Regions from separate parts of the Homo sapiens genome. Here region 2 is linked to region 1. Evidence: promoter capture Hi-C in human tissues and cell types (Jung and others, 2019). All regions are on one chromosome and are shown on one strand. Each heading gives the region's core, a stretch centred on a gene start or on the middle of the fragment in contact. The rest is flanking DNA. Distances are from core to core; before and after follow the strand shown. Region 1 holds the start of MAPK7 (mitogen-activated protein kinase 7). Region 2 overlaps ULK2 (unc-51 like autophagy activating kinase 2).

Region 1 (7,930 bases), core at 3,125-5,624:
CATGTCATCTCAGCCTCTTTTGTTTTCCTGCTTTTAATAAGATGTAGAAAACAGTTGTGAAAGCACAATGATAAGTAGCATCTGACCCTCGGCCTGTGCTGGGGAGGCTGTCAGGGAGTGGCAGGGACTGTGGTGAATTAGAGAGCACATGTTCTTTCAATGGCGGGGTCACAGTTCGATGGCTACGTAGAAATGCTGATCTGATTTCCCAAAAGAAAGCAAAAATCAGGATTCTTATGGCAAATCTCCCCATTTTTGACAGGCAAATAATTCCAAGCTTTTAAAAAGCACCGTGTGAGTCATTCTCTCATACCACTGGTGGGTGTCTAAATCAGTATAATCTCTAAGGATAGAAATTTGACATTAGCTACTAAAATTGTAAGAACAATACTCTTTAACTTGACACTCCCACTTCTGGTATTCTTCCTGCATATACACTTGCTGTGTGCAAAATGATGTGTTCAAGAAAATTTATTGCAGCATTGTTTGCAATAGTGAAAAAACTGAACTCATCTAAATGTCTATCTAGGGGGTCTTGGTTAAATAGGTTATATTCGTAAAGGAATATCATGCAGCTGTAAAAATGAGTGCTTTTTTTTTAGATATGACAATAGCACAAGTGACAAAAGACAAAACAGATAACTGGACTTCATCAAAATTAAAAACTTTTGTGGAACAGAGGATGTTATCAAGAAAGTGAAAAGACGATCTGAGAAATGGAAGTAAATATCTGTAAATCATGGGAAGTAAATATCTGTAAATCATCTAATAAGGTAATATCTGTATCTGTAAATCATCTGATAAGGGACTTTTGTTTAGAATATATAAAGAACTCTGACAGCTCAACAATAAAAAGGCAAATAATCCAATTAAAAATGGACAGAGGGCTGATGCGGTGGCTCATGCCTGTAATCCCAGCACTTTGGGAGGCTGACGTAGGCCGATCACTTGAGCTCAGGAGTTCAAGACTAGCCTGGCCAACACAGTGAGACCCTGTCTCTGCTAAAAATACAAAAATTAGCTGAGTGCAATGATGTGTGCCTGTAGTCCTAGCTACTTGAGAGGCTGAGGCAGGAGAATCACTTGAGCTTGGGAGGCGGAGGCTGCAGTGAGCTGAGATCCTACCACCGCACTCTAGCCTGGGCTGGAGTGAAACCCTGTCTCAAAAAGAAAAAAAAAAAAGGTCAAAGGATTTGAATAGATATTGAACAGACATTTCCCCAAAGGAGACAAATGGCCAATAAACCGTGAAAACATCCTTAGTCATTAGGGAAATGCAAATCAAAACTACAATGACGTATCACTTCACACCCACTAGGATGGCTATAATTAAAAAATAATAATAATAATAAGGCTGGGTACTGTGGCTCATGCCTGTAATCCCAGCACTTTGGGAGGCTGAGGCAGGTGGATCACTTGAGGTCAGGAGTTCGAAACCAGCCTGACCATCTCTAATAAAAATATAAAAATTAGCTGGACATGGTGGTGGGGACCTGTAATCCCAACTACTCGGGAAGCTGAGGGAGAAGAATTGCTTGAACCTGGGGTGCAGATGTTGCAGTGAGCCGAGATCGTGCCAGTGCACTCCAGCCTGGGCGATAGAGTGAGACTCAGTATCAGAAAAAGAAAAGAGGTGTTGGTGAGGATGTGGAGAAATCGGAACTCTTAAATATTGCTGGTGAATTTGTAAAATGGTGCAACTGCTGGAGAAAACAGCTTGGCACTTTCTCAAGAAGTTAATAGTTTACCATGTGACCCAGCAATCCCACTCCCAAGAGAAAGGAAAACATGTCCACAAAAAAACTTGTAAACAAATGTTCTCAGAAGCATTATCATAATAGCCAAAAAGTTGAAACAACCCAAATGTTCATAAACTGATGGATAAACAAAATATGGTATATCTAAACAATGCAATATATTTGGCCATAAAAATTAGTGCTAATATGACAACATGAACTTTATGCTAAGTGAAATAAGCCAAACACAAAAGACTACACAGTGTGTGATTCCATTAGTATAGAGCATCCACAATACGCAAGTCCATAGAGACAGAAAGTAGTTCAGTGGTTGCAAGGGCTCTGGTGAAAGAGGAATGAGGAGTGACCGTTAATGGGTATAAACCAAAAATAAAATTAGAAGGCCCTTTGCAACCATCTGAATGGACTCCCTCCTTGGCCAGCACACCCTAAAATTTAACCTGAAAGACTGGTTCAGGCCACGATGGGAGGTGAGAGTTGGACATGCCTTATTATACCCCTCCAACATTAACATCAACACTGACCTTAAGTCTGATAAGAAATATTTGTCTATTCTCTCTATAGCCTGCTACTGGGAGGCTTCAACTGCATAATAAAACCTAGGTCTCCTGGCCAGGTGCAGTGGCTCACGCCTGTAATCCCAGCACTTTGGGAGGCCGGGAGCAGGGGGGCGTGGATGACTTGAGGTCAGGAGTTCGAGACCAGCCAGGCCAACAGGGTGAAACCCCATCTCTACTAAAATACAAAAAAAAAAAAAAAAAAAAAAAAAAAGCCGGGCTTGATGGCTCATGCCTGTGATCCCAGCTATTCGGGAGGCTGAGGCAGGAGACCAGGAGGGGGAGGTTGCAGTGAGCCGAGATCGCACCACTGCACTCCAGCCTGGGCAACAGAGTGAGACTCACTCTTCAAATAAAATAAAATAAAATAAAATAAAATAAAATAAAATAAAATAAAATAAACAACCAAAAAACCCTAGGTCTCCACAACCCCTTATCATAACCCAGATATTCCTTTCTATAGATAATAACTCTTGTAACCAACTGCCAATCAGGATATGTTTAAATCTACCTGTGACTTGGAAGCCCCTCCCCTTTGAGTTGTCCCGCCCTTCCAGAATAGACATTGAACAGACATTTCCCCAAAGGAGACAAATGGCCAATAAGCACATCAAATCAATGTCAATCTTGCATGTATTGACTTATGTATTATGTCTTCCTGAAATGTATAAAGGCTGACTATGCCCCGACCATCTTGGGCACATGTTGTAGGACCTCCTGAGGCTGTCACCACCATGTCCTTAACATTGGCAAAATAAACTTTCTAAATTGACTTGAGACTTGTCTCAGATACTTGGTTCACATAGGTTTCTTTTAGGGGCGATGAAAATGTTCCATAAACCACTCTACCTAAAATTAGGTAGTGATGATGGCTGCTCAACTGTGAATATACCAAAAAACACTGAATTGTACACTATAAAAGGATGAGTTTTATGGTATGTTATTAAAAGTTGTTTAAAAGTGAGGGACCCCTCCAGTTATTGATATGGAATGATCTTCAGGAAAAGAGCATAATATGCTACATTTTTGTACACCAAAGGGGAGGTAGGTACGAATATGCATACATATTGCTTTTTTCTAGAAGCCGCCTAGGAGTGAAACCAAAATTCTTCACTTCTTTTCGGCCCTACCTCGAGCTCCCTTTAGAAAACCTTTCCTTCCAGCTCACAGTATCCACCATGTCCACCTTCGCCTCCCGGCACTGAGCCTTAGAGGGGCGGTGCTCCATAAACATTTGCTACATGAATGAACGAATAAACTATCGGATTTTGGGGTGGGTCGGGACAGCTCGGTTCCAGCGAGGGCTCCGCCCACCCGCGGGCTCCGCAGAGGAGCAGAGGTTGGGCGGCCGCCTCGGTTAACTCCGCTGCAGCCCAAAGCACGGGAATCGCGGGACAGACAAACGAGCGGAGGGAAGATACCTAGAAGCCAGGAAACCGCGAGCTGCAGTCCAACTTGGCCGGAAGCTGCGGAGAGGCTCAGCCACCGGAAGTCAGTGGAGGGTTCGGCCGGACGCTCTAGAATCCCGGAGGACCGGGATCTCTGTGGTTGGCCGTGACGGGCACCCTCTACCGGGGATGACACATTCCCAGAGCTCCTGGGACCAAGCAAATGGCGGACACAATTCCCTGGGCGGAAGGGGACTTCGGGAGCCAGTAGCCAAGGTAACAGTCCCAGACCTGGGCATCTCAGGCCGGGCAGTTCCCCGAGCTCACGGGACTAGCTGTGATTGGCCGGATGAGGTTGAGAGCTTCATGGGGACGCGCGCGCTACGTGCAGGGGCGTTGCCTTCCATTCACTTGGCGCCCGACTGCCAGTGCGCATGCGTTTGAAGGCGGTGCAGGGCGGGGAGCACACCCCTGCGAAGTGCCGGGCACCCTTTGGGCGGCTCCCGCCGGCGAGCTGGACAGCGGCGCGCGCCAGGCGTGGCTTTCTCGGCCGGTGGGCTAGGATTGGACGCAGTAGGTAGAAGGGGCAGGACCCTCCGCAGCAGTAGCTCAGCGATTGGCCAGGAGCTGGAGGGAGCGTGGCCTTGGGAGGCGGGGCGGAGGGGGACGGACAGGGCAGCTCAAGACGCTGAGGTGGTGGCTGCGGCCTTTGAACAAGTAAGTGAGCCACCCTCGGAGACCCCCGCGCTGGGGACGGGAGGCCGGCGAGCCTCGGGACCTCTGAAAGCCTTGAGGAGGCGCGGGGGTGAGTGCGGCCCTGAGGAAACCCAGGTGCCCCGCCCCTCCCTTTCTTCCTGGCCCGCGCCTCGCCTACCCCTCCCCCGACCCTGGCGGGCCCCCGGCTCTGGGCCCGGACCCCTGGGGTAGCTAGTCTGCCACGAACCAGCCGCGCGCTTCTGCCCTTGTCGGTTTAGGAAACTGGGAAGTTCCCTGGTCCTGCTCCCCAGCCCGCAGAGGGGACACTGAGGCCCACGGTAGGTGGTCCTCTCCTCACCCGAGTCTCCACACAGACACCATGGCCGAGCCTCTGAAGGAGGAAGACGGCGAGGACGGCTCTGCGGAGCCCCCCGGGCCCGTGAAGGCCGAACCCGCCCACACCGCTGCCTCTGTAGCGGCCAAGAACCTGGCCCTGCTTAAAGCCCGCTCCTTCGATGTGACCTTTGACGTGGGCGACGAGTACGAGATCATCGAGACCATAGGCAACGGGGCCTATGGAGTGGTGTCCTCCGCCCGCCGCCGCCTCACCGGTGAGCTTCCTGAGCCGTCGCCTCCCAGATGTGGCAGCGTCGCAGGGAGTGGGAAACCGGCCTGTCCCAGACAGCCGGGAAGGAAAGCGGGGTGCGAGTTCTGGCTCCAGTCAACACACACTGACCAGGGCCTTCTGCCTGCCAGGCTCCGGGGAGGCTCGGTTCTCTGAAACTCCGGCCTGGTGGTTTTGCCATCCTGCCTGCCTACTTCCTCCTTAGGAAAATGATAGTCCCAGTTAGACCAGAATGGAGAGCCAGTCCTTCGTGTCTAAGAGAGAAATGTGTTCTGGAGCCAGACACTGGCATAAGGAACTGGTGGTGGGATGGGTGAGGTCTGAGATGGAGAGGGTGTAGGCATAAGAGGCTGAGCTACACCACTGGGCATCCGTGCAACCTCCAACAAGTTACTAAGCCATATTTCCTTCTCTTTAACGTTGACCTATTGGGACCTGCCCCGCAGGGGAGTTGTGAAGGTAACATTTAATAATGTAGGTAACATGCTTAGCACAGGGCTTGGCACATAGTAGGTACCCAATACTTGGTAGCTGTTGTCATTTGCATCCTAGAAGGGAGGTGTTGATAGGGGCTGAGTCGACTCTGCAGTTTCTCCAAGGTATCCTCTGGTATGTCCCTTTTCCCTGCTCCTCAGGCCAGCAGGTGGCCATCAAGAAGATCCCTAATGCTTTCGATGTGGTGACCAATGCCAAGCGGACCCTCAGGGAGCTGAAGATCCTCAAGCACTTTAAACACGACAACATCATCGCCATCAAGGACATCCTGAGGCCCACCGTGCCCTATGGCGAATTCAAATCTGTGTAAGAAGCGGGATGGGAGAGGGAGCCAGACTTGGGACTTTTCTGAAGGCTGCAACCATGTTGCCGAAGTTCTGGAAAGGCAGCTGAATCTAATCTGAAGCAGGCTGGGAAAATTCCCGCAGTTCTAGGACCAGTTCTTTAGAGTTTTGCCAGGGACAACTGTTATTCCTCAAGAAGTGTACAGATGATTTTACAGTTTTATAGAATCTTAGTATATAGGATGTCAAATGTAGGACATTCCTACTATGACCACACCCTCCTATTCCCATAGCAGACTTCACTAATCAATCACAGAACACTTTCCTACAGACAGTGGACAAGCCTGGTCAATTTTCATCATAGTTCTTCAAGCTGCCACTACCAAACAATGGAGATAGCCCCAAAAGGAAACCTATTGGCCAGCCCTGGTGTAGTCCAACCCCATCTTTTATCTGATGGGGAAACTAGGTCTGGAGACAAAAGTGATTTAACCAAGTTCATGGAAAAGTCGTAGAGAATCTAAAACGTGATGCTCTTCTTCCATACCATGCCGTCAGCCCCTATGGGGTCCCAGGGTAAGGCTGTTACCTGTCTGGAATCGGAAGGGTGTGGTGAGGATGGGGCTTGTCCCTGGAGTGTGATCAGGCCAACCCATGCTTCTCTCCTTCCTTCCCCTTCCAGCTACGTGGTCCTGGACCTGATGGAAAGCGACCTGCACCAGATCATCCACTCCTCACAGCCCCTCACACTGGAACACGTGCGCTACTTCCTGTACCAACTGCTGCGGGGCCTGAAGTACATGCACTCGGCTCAGGTCATCCACCGTGACCTGAAGCCCTCCAACCTATTGGTGAATGAGAACTGTGAGCTCAAGATTGGTGACTTTGGTATGGCTCGTGGCCTGTGCACCTCGCCCGCTGAACATCAGTACTTCATGACTGAGTATGTGGCCACGCGCTGGTACCGTGCGCCCGAGCTCATGCTCTCTTTGCATGAGTATACACAGGCTATTGACCTCTGGTCTGTGGGCTGCATCTTTGGTGAGATGCTGGCCCGGCGCCAGCTCTTCCCAGGCAAAAACTATGTACACCAGCTACAGCTCATCATGATGGTGCTGGGTACCCCATCACCAGCCGTGATTCAGGCTGTGGGGGCTGAGAGGGTGCGGGCCTATATCCAGAGCTTGCCACCACGCCAGCCTGTGCCCTGGGAGACAGTGTACCCAGGTGCCGACCGCCAGGCCCTATCACTGCTGGGTCGCATGCTGCGTTTTGAGCCCAGCGCTCGCATCTCAGCAGCTGCTGCCCTTCGCCACCCTTTCCTGGCCAAGTACCATGATCCTGATGATGAGCCTGACTGTGCCCCGCCCTTTGACTTTGCCTTTGACCGCGAAGCCCTCACTCGGGAGCGCATTAAGGAGGCCATTGTGGCTGAAATTGAGGACTTCCATGCAAGGCGTGAGGGCATCCGCCAACAGATCCGCTTCCAGCCTTCTCTACAGCCTGTGGCTAGTGAGCCTGGCTGTCCAGATGTTGAAATGCCCAGTCCCTGGGCTCCCAGTGGGGACTGTGCCATGGAGTCTCCACCACCAGCCCCGCCACCATGCCCCGGCCCTGCACCTGACACCATTGATCTGACCCTGCAGCCACCTCCACCAGTCAGTGAGCCTGCCCCACCAAAGAAAGATGGTGCCATCTCAGACAATACTAAGGCTGCCCTTAAAGCTGCCCTGCTCAAGTCTTTGAGGAGCCGGCTCAGAGGTGCCTTGTGGGCAGGTCGGGTGGGCAGAGGGGAGACTTGGACTTGGACAAGGCTTCAGGCTTTTACCTTCTCCCCTGCCCAACTTCCCCGCAGATGGCCCCAGCGCACCCCTGGAGGCTCCTGAGCCTCGGAAGCCGGTGACAGCCCAGGAGCGCCAGCGGGAGCGGGAGGAGAAGCGGCGGAGGCGGCAAGAACGAGCCAAGGAGCGGGAGAAACGGCGGCAGGAGCGGGAGCGAAAGGAACGGGGGGCTGGGGCCTCTGGGGGCCCCTCCACTGACCCCTTGGCTGGACTAGTGCTCAGTGACAATGACAGAAGCCTGTTGGAACGCTGGACTCGAATGGCCCGGCCCGCAGCCCCAGCCCTCA
Region 2 (7,930 bases), core at 3,422-5,921, 400 kb after region 1:
TGAAGGAGAGCTTGCAGTCTGGAGGGAGATACAGTCCTGCAAAAAATGCAATTCTAATGCCAAGGCACACACGGTGTTACAGGAGGAAGCACTGGATGATACGGAATACATAGGGGATGCCTCTAACCTATATTACGGAAGGAGAAGATGATTAGGGGAAGCTTCCAGGAGGTGCTGTTTGTGCTGAATCATAAAGCAACAACAGCAGAAGTGAATCAGGTGAGGAAAAATGTGGGAAGGGGCTCTCCAGAAAGAGGGGATGGTAGCATTATTCACAGGGGTTTCCCCATCGACATTCTGATTTTCTCTTTGATCATTAAGTACCAGAACTCTCAGAAATCCAGTATCCGAATTTACTTGTTAATATGCTATATCTTGTTTTTGTTTTTAATTTTTAAAATGTATTTATGCATTCTTATATAGATGGGGTCTCGCTCTGTTGCCTAGACTAATCTTGAACTCCTGAGCTCAAGCAATCCTCTTGTCTCAGCCTCCTGAGTAGCTGGGACTACAGGTGCATGCCACTGCACCTAGCTATTCTCTCTCCTTCAAAAAAAATAATTTCAAGCAGCTAACAATAAAGCAAATAAAATGGATACAGAAGATCAGAGCCAGGACAAGGAAAAAGAAAAAAATAACTAAGTGTTAATGCCTCTAAGCTCACTAAGCAGCCAGGACGAACGGAGGAATTTATAAGTTATAGGGCTCTTTATTCTGAGAAGGAAAAACAGCATTATAATTCCATATGGAGGACATTTTTCTGGTGCAAAATTCTAAAAATAATTTATCATATGAGGTCTCAACTCAGCATACAGTGATGCAGTGCATATTATTCATCTCAATAGTTTACAGCAATATGATATATACTATTTTTGTCAAGAATTTATATTCCAAAGTTATTTTCCTATGGTTATTTTAATAAATTTCAAAATAAGGCCACGGATGTAATATAACAGCACAGTTCACAGTAGACAAATAGAAAATGGAAAGGGGGATCTATTATGTTAATGTGTTAGAAATACAATTGGCATGCCGGGCACAGTGGCTCACACCTATAATCCCAGCACTTTGGGAGGCCGAGGTGGGTGGATCACCTGAGGTCAAGAGTTCAAGACCAAGCCTGGCCAACATGGTAAAATCCTGTCTCTACTAAAAACACAAAAATTAGCTGGGTGTGGTGGCAGGTGCCTGTAATCCCAGCTACATGGGAGGCTAACGCAGCAGAATCGCTTGAACCTGGGAAGCAGAGGTTGCAGTGAGCCAAGATCATGCTGCTGCACGTCAGCCTGGACGACAGAACAAAACTCCATCTCAAAAAAAAAAAAAAAAAAAAAAAGAAAAACATATGATTGGCTAACTAATGAATTTTCCCCCACTTAACTACTTTTTCAACAGCCTCTATTTTTATTTATACTTTAGAGTAATTTTTCCCCGAGAGGCAGAAAACAAATTATTTCCAATATTAAAACCAGAAAATAGGAAAAGAAGGTTTTACTTTGTGTCTATCCTACAATATCAGTAAGTGGGACCTGAGCACATAAATTTGTGTGGATTGATTAATAAAGCAGTGTTTTTCCTAAGAGTTTTATCAAGCCTAACTTTCTTAAACAGCAGAAAATGCAGAAACAGATCCTGCTAATGCTTTTAGATGCACACTATAAAAAGATTAGATCGGCTGGGCACGGTGGCTCACATCTGTAATCCCAGCACTTTGGGAGGCTAAGGAGGGTGGAACACCTGAGGCCAGGAGTTGGAAACCACCCTGGCCAACATGGCAAAACCCCATCTCTACTAAAAATACAAAAATTAGCTGGGCATGGTGGCAAGTGCCTGTAATCCCAGCTACTCAGGAAGCTGAGGCAGGAGAATCACTTGAATCTGGGAAGCAGAGGTTGCAGTGAGCTGAGATCGTGCCACTGTACTCCAGCCTGGGCGACAGAGTAACTCCGTCTCAAGAAAAAAAAAAAAAGAAAAAAAAAAGATTAGATCATGCCTAATGCCAGCAATGTTTAATAAGAGCTGTAATAAACTTATAGCAAATGTGGTAAACGGATTTGTAATTACTTAAAATACATCCAGTAAATGACATTAACAGTTGCTTAAATCCAATTACTTCTTTAGTAGAAGGCAATCCACAATACTTGGGACTTGAGACATTATCTTTTAAAAGGATAGCTGTCATATAGATATTCAATTAAAAAGACACTTAAAGATAAGTAGTACTATACAATATTAAACCTTAGAAAGGGTTACCATTTCTACAGCACAATTATAGATGAGTTTCTCTGCAGTCACACTGTTGATTTCATCAATAAACCTCTGTTTGTCAGAGAAGAATCGATTCAGCTTTTCTGTAAGTTTCTTGCACATGGTGATGCAGAATTTATATCGTTCGTTCAGATTCTTGACAACTGAAAAAAAATTGAGATGGGAACTAATTTTAATTTTCCTCCAGAAATAAAGACACAGTTATATGTATCTTTCCTGCTGATATATAGGGAAGGTGTCACTATGTGATCATTCAAAAAAAGGACCAGAAATAGGATTTTTTCATGTTATCTCTTTCAATATGAAAAGATTGAGAATAATGCACTTCAGACTTCTATCAATTGAACTGCAAAAAGCTAACAACCCAGCATCTTTTCCCTTTAAGAATACTGAAAAATAAAAACAACAGTGAGTACTCATCAGACACTCTCTCACAGTGTGATGGGAAAGAGCAACTTAAGGACTGACCCCTGGAGTTACACGCTGCCTTCTCCCATACCTTGTTTCACAGCTGTGGATGGGCTCAGTTTCCCGGACTTGATCTGGGCTTTGGCAAGATGCAGAGAAGCCGCAAGCAGCTGTGCTGCTTTCATGTACAACACCAGCTGCTCCACCCGCCTGCACCCAAAAGACAGTAGCAGAGGGTTATCTTGTGAACTAATGTAAGATGTGGCACTCTACACAACAGGTCACCATTAAAATTGCCTTTCTATAAAGGAATAGCATCCTCTTTGATTTCTTTTCTTCTTTCTTTTCTTTTTTTTTTTTTTTTTTTGACAGAGTCTTGCTCTGTCCCCCAGGCCGAAGTATAGTGGCTTGATCTTGGCTTACTGCAGCCTCTACTTCCTGGGCTCAAGGGATCCTCCCACCTCAGCCTCCCGAATATTAATAGTTGGGACCACAGGGACGCACCACCATGCCCGGCTAATTTTTGTATTTTTTGTAGAGACAGGGATTCATCATATTGCCCAGGCTGGTCTCGAACCCATGGGCTCAAGCAATCCTTCTGCCCCATCCTCCCAAAGTGCTGGAATTACATATAGGCATAAGCTACTGCGACCAGCCCTCCTTAATTTCTTAATGCACAAGTAAACTCTCAAGGGACAAGGCATAGTTAAAGATGTGTGTACTGTGAAAATAACGGATACACTCAGATAAAAATCAATACAATCTATTTACACAAAAGAACTTCAACAGTATAATTTACAAGGAAAGGCAACACTGAGGTTGCATAATCTCCAGGTCTTGGCTCATATAGTGAAATGTAGTACAAAGAAATAATTGAGACTCCTAGCTTTTAATAATGAGATATGATCTTCAGTGGATGACAATACCTACAACTTAGACACAAGTTTAGACAAAGCATGAAAAGTCTGGAAATGAATGACAAGGGGGCACCCACCCCCAGTCTTTGCTCAGCTGACTGATCTGGTCCACCACCACACTCTCCTGGATCTGGTACAAGGACACAGCAGATGTGCACAGCTCAGGGTTTCCTCCCCTCATGGCTGTCAGGTCCAGCACACACTCAGTGAACATCAGCATCACATTCAGATGGCGTAAGGTGTCTGTGTGTTCCCGCTGCAGCAAAGTCAATTTGTCTTAGAAAATTTCAGATTAAAAATACGTACATACTCATTTCTGTACATAAACCATGGCCGCTGATCATGTTTTCTATACTTATGAGTATCAGAATGACAAAAGGAGATTGAAATTTTTAAATTTCAGAAAGCTGGTAAGAAAATGAACACAAATGAAACCAAATATAGGTATATGCATGTGTTTGTGTATGTGTATCAGAGTACCCACATAAGTAAACTCAGGATGGGTCGCTGTGCTTTTACCAGAAAAAGAAAAGAAAGCTGAACGATTAAATCAATATACATGAGACAAAAACGTGACAAGGTAGACACAAAGATTACAAGGATACTATAGGTGCTAAATCACACTTCTTGATACTGTATTGAATTCTGCTGACTTCTTATAATTTCAGAGTTGCTTTATTTAATTTCTGGTCGTTTTTCAGTTAACAGTGATTACTAATACCAAAGCTCTAACTTTCTGTGATCTTTTCAGTTAGTTAAAGAGGGGAGTGTGGGTAGACATAACAGCATTCAGAGGGCTGTCATTTAAAAATGGGCATTCTAGGCCGGGCATGGTGGCTCATGCCTGTAATCCAAGCACTTTGGGAGGCCAAGGCGGGTGGATCACCTGAGGTCAGGAGTTTGAGACCAGCCTGGCCAACATGGCGAAATCCCGTCTCTACTAAAAATACAAAAATTAGCTGGGCGTGGTGGCATGTGCCTGTAGTCCCAGCTCCTCAGGAAGCTGAGGCAGGAGAGTGGCTTGAACCCAGGAGGTGGAAGTTAGAGTGAGCTGAGATCGCACCACTGCATTCCAACCTGGGTGACAGAGCAAGACTCTGTCTCAAATAAACAAACAAACAAACAAACAAATAAATAAATAAATAAATGGGTATTCTAGATTGTTGTTTTGAGATTTGTTTTTAGTTATAAATGCATTCTGAAATCTCAAGCCTAAAAGTTTCCCACTCTTTTATGGTTAAATAAAGATGAGAATCATTTTCCTAGTGACAGGAGAATAAGCCAATTGACTTCTAAAAGTCTCTCTGCTCTGTGACAGCATATTGCACTGTATGTTTCAATACACTGGAACATGCAATAGAATGTACTAGAATGCTCACGCCTGTAATCCTAGCACTTTGGGAGGCAGAGGTGGGCAGATCACAAGGTCAGGAGTTCGAGACCCGCCTGGCCAACATGGTGAAACCCCGTCTCTACTAAAAATACAAAAATTAGCCGGGCATGGTGGCGTGTGCCTGTAATCCCAGCTACTCGTGGGGGCTGAGGCAGGAGAATTGCTTGAACCCAGGAGGCAGAGGTGGGAGTGAGCCGAGATTGCACCACTGCACTCCAGCCTGGGTGACAGAGCAAGACTCTGTCTCAAAAAAAAAGAAAGAAAGAAAAACACAGAATCTATGTGTTTCTTCCTATAAACCAAAGCTTATTATGGATGAGTGTCACTGTCAATGTTAATTTAAAAAGACATCAGCAATACTTTTCAAACAGAAAAGGCACGTTAAAGAGAACATAACTTCCTAACTATTTAATGTATTTTGTTCTTGTCATCACTAGAATGTTCTCATATCAAATCAACATTACATTCACACCACTATAGTCTCTTTTCTACCTCCATCAGCGTCTCCTCCGGCAGTTCAGGGGCTTCAAAGGTGATGAGCCCCTCTAGGCTGGGGGGTGAAGCACCGTAAGGCACGTATCTCAGGCTGGGAGCTGCCTCTGCTCCTGGAGGGGAAGAGCCGAAGCCTGGGCCAGGCGGGGACCCCACGCACACGCGGCCACTCATGGCACAAAGAGAGCCCCCGGAGTTGCTGGGCCCCACTACAAGGAAACAGAGGATACATGGCAGTGTCCAGAGTTAGGGCTTTCACACCCACTCCTACTCTTATTTACTAAACAAACCTGCTGAGGTGACAAAGGAAAGTTTCGTTAAAAGAAACTCACTGACCCCCTATGTACTATTTGAGGATATTAATAGTTTTTACTTATCCATGTTCATTGTTATTCCTTGTCTATATATTTTATATTAGACATCATCAGAGCTAGTTTTTTTATACTCTGTTTTAAACAAATTTAGATCATATTCATTTCTCCTTGCTGCTCCACAGGGCCTCATAATTATAAAACTCAATGGATGCACTGATTCATTAAATTTATATATATTATATAATGTTTATCTGGAGTCATTTATACTATTTCTGATTTTATTCATATTACAAATAGCACTGTAATGAAATGCAGACAGTTGTTCCTTCTTTTGAATAATTTCTTTGTGATAAATACTCTGAAGTGGTATAAGAAGGAATGGAATTAGCATAGATCAATAAATATTTTTACAGCTCTTCCTAAGAACTGTTATAGTACTCTCTAACGCAGCCCTGAGTAAGCACATAGATCCTACTAAACCTCAATAACACTGGACATGATACTTTTTTTTTTTTTTTTTTTTTTTTTTTTTTGAGTCAGGGTCTTGCTGTTGCGCAGGCTGAATTGCAGTGGCGTGATCACAGCTCACTGCAGCCTTGATTTTCTGGGCTCAGGTAATTCTTTCACCTCAGCCTCACAAGTAGCTGGGACTATAGGCGTATGCCACCATGTCTGGCTAATTTCTGTATTTTTTTTGTAGAGATGGGGTTTCACCATGTTGCCCAGGCTGGTCTCAAACTCCTGACCTCAAGTGATCCTCCTGCCTCGGCCTCCCAAAGTGCTGGGATTACAGGCATGAACCACCATGCCCAGTCTTGGGCATTGTACTTTTTAAGATATAGGTATAGTTAACAGATATAAAATGTTACTTTCGTAAAATGGTATTTTCTTATTATTCAAGGTTTTTAATCGTCTTAAAAACATAATTTTAGATCTATTTTCTCTTATCTATTTCTATCCTTTGCTTATTAACCTGGTCTCTTGATCAGCAACTTATTTAGAATAAGATAACTTGACTCATGATACAACAGATAAGACATCAAATTATTGATTTCAAGTCCAATCTAAATACTTTCTTAAGTTTTGGTATTAACCTATTTACAGATTATAAATGATAAATCTATTAGCCTTCTAACTGTATATAGGATTAAGTGCAAAGATTGAGACCCAAAGTACAAAAAATTAAAAATAAATAAATAAAACAAGTTTCTTTCTTTTCTGAAACAGAGTTTCGCTCGTTACCCAGGCTGGAGTGCAATGGCGCAATCTCGGCTCACTGCAACCTCCACTTCCCAGGTTCAAGTGATTCTCCTGCCTCAGCCTCCTGAGTAGCTGGGATTACAGGTACCTGCCACCACACCTGCCTAAATTTTTGTATTTTTAGTAAAGACAGGTTTTCACCATGTTGGCCACGCTGGTCTCGAGTTCCTGGCCTCAAGTGATCTGCCTGCCTCAGCCTCCCAAAGTAAGTGCTGGGATTACAGGCATAAGCCACCTCACCTAGCCAAAACAAGTTTCTTTAAAAAAAAAAACCAAAAAAAAACCAAACCTATAATTTTCAAATAATTTATTGGATCTACTAAAGTAACCCTTTAATATATAAGCTGAGAAGAACCATATACGATTTGCTTCTTCACGAAGAAGTCATATTTATACTATATGTCATTTTGTAAAAACATATACAACATATATTTATATTTTAATATATAATATAGCACTTTACAAAGTTTTTTTCCCCACAAATGATGCCTCATTTACTTCTTATAACCCATTAAGATAAAGAAAATAGTAATCTCCATTTCACTGGTAAAGAAACTGAAGCCCAGAGAATTAAGTGACTTGTCCAAGTTACAACACTGAGTCATTTGTCAAAACACTACATTCCAAATACTAGCCAAAGACTGTAATATAACAAATGCTCCTTACCTGAGGTTGTTCTTGTTCGAAGGAACATGTGGGTACAAGTGGGGGCTGCCGCACTGTGTGGAGGAGACCCTACAGTGAAGAGGACAGCCTTGGAACTTGCTGCTGTACCTGCAGGAGGTGCCAGAACACCACCACAGGCTCCTGCCGGAGCTACAACAAAAAGTTTATAGAAGGTCATATTACCCTGATAGTGTTTATATCTGGGAGATGGG

The links. Contacts are between HindIII fragments. The study calls those that stand out against the background at their distance.
Region 2: a fragment that was not itself captured here is called in contact with the fragment with the promoter of MAPK7 in region 1 in 1 of the 25 tissues and cell types used here (stomach).

The regions. Positions count from the first base shown.
Region 1 is chr17:19,374,124-19,382,053 of GRCh38, forward strand. MAPK7 (mitogen-activated protein kinase 7) reads left to right here and starts at 4,375. Exons shown (of 7, transcript NM_002749.4): 1 at 4,375-4,507; 2 at 4,773-5,009; 3 at 5,659-5,824; 4 at 6,485-7,563; 5 at 7,658-7,930. The coding sequence starts at 4,778. It also overlaps a transcript of B9D1 not described here. RefSeq lists silencers at 3,451-3,500, 4,211-4,270, 4,341-4,600 and enhancers at 3,771-4,000, 6,338-7,300. The HindIII fragment of the contact is 16,435 bases long and covers 1-7,930 here.
Region 2 is chr17:19,778,219-19,786,148 of GRCh38, forward strand. It overlaps ULK2 (unc-51 like autophagy activating kinase 2), which reads right to left. Exons shown (of 27, transcript NM_014683.4): 21 at 7,719-7,868; 22 at 5,479-5,687; 23 at 3,671-3,849; 24 at 2,768-2,886; 25 at 2,254-2,411. Among named protein-coding and RNA genes, the nearest start is that of ALDH3A1, 34 kb to the left of the region's middle. The HindIII fragment of the contact is 9,613 bases long and covers 1-7,930 here.